Regions from separate parts of the Homo sapiens genome. Here region 2 is linked to region 1. The links are contacts of gene promoters, found by promoter capture Hi-C in human tissues and cell types (Jung and others, 2019). All regions are on one chromosome and are shown on one strand. Each heading gives the region's core, a stretch centred on a gene start or on the middle of the fragment in contact. The rest is flanking DNA. Distances are from core to core; before and after follow the strand shown. Region 1 holds the start of NEUROG3 (neurogenin 3). Region 2 overlaps COL13A1 (collagen type XIII alpha 1 chain).

Evidence for each region. The method cuts DNA at HindIII sites, captures the fragments that hold promoters and counts their contacts. A contact is called where the count stands out against the background at its distance.
Region 2: a fragment that was not itself captured here is called in contact with the fragment with the promoter of NEUROG3 in region 1 in 1 of the 25 tissues and cell types used here (aorta).

What each region holds. Positions count from the first base shown.
Region 1 is chr10:69,571,171-69,575,275 of GRCh38, forward strand. NEUROG3 (neurogenin 3) reads right to left here and starts at 2,252. Exons shown (of 2, transcript NM_020999.4): 1 at 2,040-2,252; 2 at 528-1,874. The coding sequence starts at 1,873. The coding sequence ends at 1,229. LOC101929021 (a long non-coding RNA gene) reads left to right here and starts at 1,787. Exons shown (of 4, transcript XR_946037.2): 1 at 1,787-1,897; 2 at 3,712-3,978. RefSeq lists an enhancer at 418-1,045 and a silencer at 2,303-2,522. The HindIII fragment of the contact is 13,443 bases long and covers 1-4,105 here.
Region 2 is chr10:69,877,555-69,881,659 of GRCh38, forward strand. It overlaps COL13A1 (collagen type XIII alpha 1 chain), which reads left to right. Exons shown (of 41, transcript NM_001368882.1): 6 at 485-511; 7 at 2,949-2,999. Among named protein-coding and RNA genes, the nearest start is that of COL13A1, 78 kb to the left of the region's middle. The HindIII fragment of the contact is 4,719 bases long and covers 1-4,105 here.

The DNA of each region.
Region 1 (4,105 bases), core at 1,002-3,501:
TGCTCTAAAGCTAGGCTGGTGGAGTTGGGGAAAGGGCCAGCAAGTGAGAGTCAGTTGTCCTAGTTGGAGGCTTGTCTTTCTTCTAAACCACTCTTTGAAATAAGAGGAGTCATTGCCCTATATAGAAAAAAGGGAGCTGGACCAATAATTACTTAGAAGACTTCCAGCTCTCCAAACCCAATCTGCCCTGGCTCTAGCCCAGACCTCCAGAAAGAGTGTCATCCCTCTCTTTGGACAGAAGTGCTCTTCCTCAGCTGTAGTGACTGTGGCCCTCCTCTCCCCAACACACAATGGAGTCATCTTGCCAAGGCTTCTTGAAGGTCCATTTTTTTTTATTGGCTTAAAATCTCATCCAGCAATCCCTAAATAATCTAATATACAAAATATAGGCTTTTCCCTGCTGTGAAATCTCATTAATAAATACAAATGTGTAAAACAGGGGAGGGGCCATATAATTTACTGTACCAAAATTGATTTCAAAAGGCATCATATAATTTACAAACAGATTTAAAAAAAAAAGATGCGCGGTGCTCCAGGCACCTGCAGCGCAGCTCACGTTTCAGGCGCAGTTCGCAGGGAGGCTGGGGAGATGCTCCCTGGCCGGGCTAGCGCTTTCCCAGTTCACAGCCTGGTCTTCCGCCCCGGGAGGGCAATGGCTCCGAAAAGTGCACGAGGAGAAGGCAGAGGGTCGCCTTCGTGGCTTTAAGGCAGAGTGAGGCGCCCTGAAATCCCGGACCTGATTGGGAGTAGAGCAGATCGGCAGCGTCTTTGGAGCAAGGCAAGGGGAGTAAGCGCTGAGAGACCAAACATTGGATTGAATCACATTGGAGGAGGGGTGGTAAGAGACTGAGAGGCAGACAGACTTGAGTGAGGGTAGGGCGACCCAAGACGGTGGGCGGCTCCGGCCGGGTAGTGCTACCATTCTAGTATTCTTTGAATGAGATTATGGGGTGGTGGCAGAGAGGAGGCCTAAAATGAGCGCACTTTGCAATGCCCACTTCGCGCGGGCAGCAGCAAGGGTTGCGTGCGTTGGCGCGGCTCGGAGGGCCGGGGAATGAACCCAGCCTGCCGCCCCCGTGGAGGCCTGGGCCGGCCAGGGGTCAGCCAGGGAGAAGCAGAAGGAACAAGTGCTTTTGAGGGCCGCCGCCGTCGGCCACCCTCTACGGCTCCCGGCTCCCTCCCTCTCCCTTACCCTTAGCACCCACAGCCCAGCGACAGACAGGTCCTTTCACAGAAAATCTGAGAAAGCCAGACTGCCTGGGCTCAAGCAGGCGGAAAAGGTGGCCCCCAGCAGCCCGGGTCGCTCCTCCAGCGACGCGGCGGGACTCAGGCTGCCAGCCTGGGAGACTGGGGAGTAGAGGGACCCCCAGTCCCCGGGGGAACCGCCTGGGCTGCCCAGCTCCCCGCAGTGCGGCGCCGGCGGCTCCAGCGCGTACAAGCTGTGGTCCGCTATGCGCAGCGTTTGAGTCAGCGCCCAGATGTAGTTGTGGGCGAAGCGCAGCGTCTCGATCTTGGTGAGCTTCGCGTCGTCTGGGAAGGTGGGCAGGACACCGCGCAGGGCGTCCAGTGCCGAGTTGAGGTTGTGCATTCGATTGCGCTCGCGGTCGTTGGCCTTCTTTCGCCGACTCCGTCGCTGCTTGCTCAGTGCCAACTCGCTCTTAGGCCGGCTGCGTCCCCCGCGCCGTGCCCGGAGCTTCCTCGGGGCCCCTCGGCAGCCTCCCTCTTCCGCCTCTGCGCAGTTCCCCCGTGTGCGAGTGGGGCTGGGCGGGGCGGACGTGGGGCAGGTCACTTCGTCTTCCGAGGCTCTGGGGAAGGACCGCTCCGTCTCACGGGTCACTTGGACAGTGGGCGCACCCGAGGGTTGAGGCGTCATCCTACGGCGGGGTCAGAGGGAAGGGTAAGTTTGAGTCCGTCACTGGGCGCAGTCCGCGATTCCGAGGCTAGGTGGGAAAAAACAAAAACAGCCATCCTCCCAGCCCCCGCTGGGTCAGAGGATCCCTCTTTCCCCTGCCCGTCCCTCGGAGGCCTCCAAATATTACCTTTCTACCGGCGCAAAAGAATAGAGAGCGATGAGCAGCGAGGGCCGTGGGGAGCTCAGCGGGCTTCTGGTCGCCAAGTTCAGCTGAGCTGCAGGCGCCCCCGCCTGGGAGTTGCCCCAGCCCCAAAGGAGAAAAGAAGAGAGAATGGGGTCCGAGGCCTCTGTCACGCTCTCTCTCGAGGCGCGGCGGTGAGACCGCAGGGATTTCCTGAGCAGCAAGTCGTGTGCCCCTTGGCACGCTTTATCTGCTTCGCCCGGGCCAGGAGCGTGCCTGCCCGGCTGCTGCCCGCGCCACCGGCCAATCAGCGCCGGGGCCCTGGGGCCGCGCCACGCGAGCCCGCTCCTCCCCCGCAGGGCACAGCTGGATTCCGGACAAAGGGCCGGGGTCGGGGGAGGGGAGCGCCGCTCTGTTTGCTCTCTCGAGGGCGGGCTGGGTCCCAGCAACTCTCGGTTCCTCAAAGAGCCTCGCCCAGTGAGAAGAGCCTCGTGTGGCTCTGGTCAGGCCACCTCAGACGGCTTTGCTCCTAGCCTATCTTTCCTTAGCATCTGTCCTGGAGGGGACTTTGATGCCTCTAGGGTACAATGCCTGCACGTTACACATGGGGAAATTTAGGCTTAGTGAGGGAGGTGGCTTGTCTGAAATCGCACAGGAAGATAGTGGCAAAGACAACCACGAGCTCATTGTCCTGACTAGCAGCCTGGAGAAGGGTCCAGGAATTCTAAAGGACGCCCTGCTCTCCTGGTGTTTCACTGCCTCTCTTCATCCTGGAAGACAGGGGACATCACTGAGAGAGATCCTGCCTATGTCCCTTCCATTCGCAGACCTTTTGGGGGTGTCCGAGCCTCTGCCACACCCTGAGATGCTACCTCACACTCCCCAGAGGCGCTTAGAACCCCACCCCCATAGATCCCACTCCAGAGGCAGGGGTTGGCTGTGCGGGGACCCCTCAAGCGGACATTCCATTACTACAAGCCTACTACAGCTTGTAGATAGTATCCCAGCGTTCTGGCCAGGAACCGTGACAGGAAGAGTTCTGGGAAGTGTGAGGAGGGGAGGAAGGAACCAGGAGTTCACAGTGAGCTCTTGCTTCTTTTTTTTTTTAAACGAACAAACAAAACCAAAAAACGGTCTCCTTCTGTCGCCCAGGCTGGACTGCAGTGGTGCAATCACAGCTCACTGCAGCCTTGATCTCCTGGGCTCAAGCTATCCTCCCACTTCAGCCTTCCCAGTAGCTGAGACTACAGGCATGCGCCACTGTGCCCGGCTAATTTATTTGTATTTTTATTTTGTATGGGGTGAGGGGCGGTCTTGCTTTGTTGCCCAGGATGGTCTCGAACTCCTGGGCTCAAGCGTTCCTTTCACTTCAGTCTCCCAAGGCGCTGGGAAGCAGAGCTGCTGTGCCCCTCCCCCTCGTGTCTTTTGAACTACCACAGCGTGCAGGCACTGGGAGAAGCTGATAAACTTTTTCTCCCCTTAGTCCTCCGGTCCAATCACAGACAGACAGCAGCTGCCAGCAGTCACCTGCTCCAGCCCCCTGCCTCTGCATCACTCGGGCATCGCACAGAGAGCACAAGGCAGGGACTTCCCCAGCCCCTTGGGTTGTCCCTGGTAGCGCTCTCTGGAAACCTTTCCAAAGGGACTCTGAACTCATCATCCCTCCTTTCTTCCCCAGCCCCTCCTCTTGTCCCCGCCTGGGACATCCCGTGGTCTTCTGCTTCCGGTCACTCAGAGTGAGGGGTTGCAGCTTCCGCTTCTCTCTCTTGACCCGGTCGTGCCTGGAGGAAGACGCCGAGGCGGGAGGTTTAAGTATCCCGGTTTAAGTCTCCTTAGGCGAGGAAGGCTTCTCTTTCTAGCAGGTCCAGATATCCTGAGTCTCCCGGAAACTGCAGGAGGGGACAGGACCCGACTTCGAGACTGTAGGGTGGGGTGAGGGGATGAGGTAGGTCTGTGAGTCTGCCCTAGTGATAGCCTCTTACCGCCTAGGCTGCTTGGGGGCAAATTTTCCTCCAAGGAAGAGGGTGGTATGCTCAGGAACCAGCGAGAGGGGGGCTCTAGGACTGGGCGGG
Region 2 (4,105 bases), core at 707-3,206, 310 kb after region 1:
GTCCTGGCCAGCTGGGGCCATGGCTTCTGGGGAGGATTTCCTGACTTAGGTGGGATCTTGTTCTCTTTTCTCTATCTCTGTCTCTCTCCCATTGTCTGGCTTTCTCTCTCTCTCTCTCTGTCTCTCTCTCTCTCTCTCTCTCTCTCACACACACACACACACACACACACACACACACACACACACACACACGTACGTGCCTCAAGAGGGCCTCTTACGGCCCCAGCCACTGTTTCTCAGTTATCTGGAGCAGCTGCACATTGCAGCAGCGCCTTCCACATGCCACATGCTGTGCTTGTTGGACGTGGACCTGCCATGTGTCGACATCTGTGTTTTGCTTTGTTTCTTATTTCACAGTGATTTCTTCTGTTTGGTTGTTGTGCTATGAACATGGATTCTCGTGTGGGTGCCTCTTTCTCATCCCCTCTTTTTTCTCTCCCCTCCTTTCCCTTCCTGCACCCTGTGTTGCATGTGGCTGCCCCAGGGAGTAAAGGGCCAACCAGGCGAGAAGGTGAGTCCACACTTTCCCCTTCTGCCCTGCACCCAGCCTCCTCCTCCAGGTGGACTCTTGATGGGAGGCTCTCAGCCCTCCCCCCCATGAAAGCCGCAGCAGAGGGTGCTGGCTGGGCCTGCTGCCCTCACTGCCTCTCACGGCCCCGTTTCCTAACAGCTTCCATAACATCGGGCAGCAGTCTTGGGATTCCTGGGCGGCGGTCCCAGCTTTCCCAGCTGAGGAGGTCTTCCCTGCCTTGCCCTGCCCTGACAGCATGAGGCCTCATCGCTCTGGCCAATCGCTATTTTGTGTAGCTGGAACTGCCCAGGGGGACCCCCGAGGCTATGGAATAGAGCCCCCCTGGGAAGTCAGAAATCCAGAAGCCATCCTGGAACATCAGCCCTGGGGGGTTCTTGAGAGATTTCTGAGAGCAACACTTCTTTTTTTTTTTTGAGATTGAGTCTCGCTCTGTCACCCAGGCTGGAGCGCAGTGGCGAGATCTCGGCTCACTGCAACCTCCGTCTCCTGGGTTCAAGCAATTCTCCTACCTCAGCCTCCCAAGTAGCTGGGATTATAGGCCTGTGCCACCACACCCAGCTAATTTTTGCAGTTTTAGTAGAGACAGGGTTTTACCATGTTGGCCAGGCTGGTCTCGAATTCCTGACCTCAGGTGATCCGCCCACTTGTCCTCCCAAAGTGCTGGGATTACAGGTGTGAGCCACCATGCCTGGCCAAGCACAACACTTCTAAAGAGTTCACTCTGCAGGTGAGGAAACTCATCTGATGCCCAAGGAAGGAGCAGGGCTGGCCCAAGATGGCACAGCAATAGTGATGAGCAGGGGCTCCAAGCCAGACCTCCCGGTGCCCGGCTCTGTACTTCCCTGTCTGTAATGCAGTATTTCTGCAATAGTTTCCCATCTCCAAAATAACAATCTCAACAATTATAATACAGTTGCCATGTATTAAACACAAATTGTGTCAGGTGCGGGTTTAAGTATTTTGTCTGTTTTCCCAACTAGCACTGACATAACCTTTTCAGGGAAGCTTTAATATTCTCATTTACACGAGGCACAGAGAGGCCAAGTCACATGCCCCGGGTCACACAGCTAGAATGTGACAGAGATGGAGAGGTGCCCCAGTGTGTCTGACTCCAAGGCTGGGGCTCCTAGCTACCATGCTATTCTGTCCTCATATTGGAACTAGACTGTCAGCTCCACATTGGCATGAGGCTAAACTGCCTAGGAGAAAGACACATGACCCCTTCCATGGACCAGGCATTGTTTTAAGTACTTTACATTATCACATGACATCTTCACATCCACCCTATGAGACAGGCGCTATCTGTATCCTTACAGATGAGAAGACAGGCACGGGGACATTAAGTCGCTTGCCCAAGGTCACACAGCTGGTGGGTAGCAGAGCTGATCTTCAGACCCAAGCATTCTGGCTCTTAACCATGACACTACACCGCCTTGTATAAAAATTATTGTATCATTGCCATGACATAAACAGTTACTAACTTGAAATCATCCCTCGCCTGCCTGTAAGGTATGACATTTTCCAAAATGCGTTTCCCGTAAGGGCAACAGAGCCGCTCTCAGCATTCCTGTTCCCAGAGGAGGTATGTGGGCTCAGAGAGGTTTTGTGACTTTTCCTGGCAGAGTAGGACCTTGAACTTAGGGACACACACACGCACACATGGCACTTGTCTAGCTAGCTCAGCCACCCTTGACAGCACTTTGAGCTCATCATTCAGCAGCATCTGCCTTCCTCTCAGAGCTGACATTCTGCCCTGGCCTTCACCCCTCCATGTCATTCTGAAACCGGGACTAGGGAATTTGAGGCAGCTCAACCTTTCAGGGTCAGGGATGCTGAGTTCACACAGCACGCATGTTGCTCGTGTCCCCCTCCTCTGTTTTCACAGTCCCATTCTCGGGCAGGTCACTGTTCAGCAGTTGCAGGGTGTGCGGCCAGATGGGTATTTGCGGAGGGGGAGCTGGAAAGCATCCTGGGCTGGGCCGGGGAGAGACTCAGGCCTGGGCAGCCTTGCTAAGTCTCCCCTCTCTCCCTGTGTCTCCCTGTTTCCCGCCACTCCAATGGATCCTGTTCTTCTCGCTTCCCCGGCCTGGGGTCCCACCACCCTGTCTCCCCGGAACCCCATGTCCTGTGTTCTCACTGACACCTCTTCTCCTTTCCCTCCTGCTGCTTCCCCCTACTACCTGCCCTTCCCAACCCATTCTGAATGCTCCCTCCTTGCCCCTGTGCCCTCTGTGTTGACTCTGCTGATCCCCTCGTGGCCCTCCACGTCCCCTGGCATCCCTCTCCTGTCCCATGGGGCCGGCCTCCTGCTCCTGGCCCCCTGCCAGCTCCTTCCCTTTGGTTCCTCTCTTTCCCGCTCCTCTTCTCCATACCTCCCTGCCCCTCGCTCCCTCTCCCCCTTCCTCTCTCCCCGCAGGGGTCCCCCGGAGACGCTGGGCTGTCCATCATTGGTCCCCGCGGCCCCCCTGTAAGTTGTTTTTGCTCTTCCTCGGGGTGTTGGGGGGATGGGTGAGTTGATGAAAAGGGCTTTTAGGCTGGGGATGAGGGGACAGCGAGGGCGGCTGTGCCCCTGGGTGGGGAGGCCACCGCATGTGATGTGGTCAGCCCAGCCAGGCCTCGGGTGCCGATGTTGATGTTAAGGAAAGTGGCCTGGCTAAATATACCTAAATTACAGTCCCTTGGGAGGGTTCTGAGGGACCTGCCCTCTAGCCACGAAACTACAGCAGCTGCAAGGCGGCCCTGCTGTTTACAGACAGAAGGGAGAAAGGGCTCGCTCTCCTCCGGATGGGGTGATCCGGCTTTCCCGGGAACCAGCCTTTGTTTCTGGAAGCCCATGGAGCAGATACGAGTCCGGGTTCACTGACCCAGGCACGCACTACTGGTCTTGCCGGAGGGCCAGCCCACACTCACCCTCACAGATGCCTCTGTGTGCAGTGCTGGGTCCTGTGTGTTCACTAGCACCCTCCACCCCGTGGCTGGGAGCTTGAGAAAACCAGCGAGGCTCCCCTCACATGTGCTTCCTTAAGGACCAAAACAGGGGTGTGGGTGATGAAGCCAGCAAGATATCGAGGCTGTGGGAGGAAGGGCTTGTTATTTTCCCAGAGCCCTGAACCACGGGGCTTTAATAAAATCACCACACGTCAGGGTGGAAAGGATCCCAGGGATGGTCTAACACAGCCCTCTCAGAAGGGGAAACTGAGGCTCAGAGAGGGGGAGCGCCCTCCCGTGTAGAGGCTGGGCAGGATTAGAACCGAGGAGCCCCGGCCTCACCACAGCAGCAGGCCGCCGGCTCCACCTTCTGCACTTTTCCTGACCCGCCGTGCTCAGTGAGGGGTGGGAGCAGAGGGCTAGCCTCTGGGAGACTGAGACCCACAGCAGAGGGAGAGGGGCCAGAGAACGAATGGCTAACTTACATCCAAGGGAGGGGGCCTGCAGTGAGATGAACAGCCAAGCGAGGGGTTGTGGCGAGTGCAGGGAGCTGAAAGGTAGAGCCAGTTTGAGAAGGAGAGCAGGGGCAGGAGAGCCAGGCTGGCAGACATGTCAGGGGCTGGGTCGGAGGCAGAACTTGAGTGG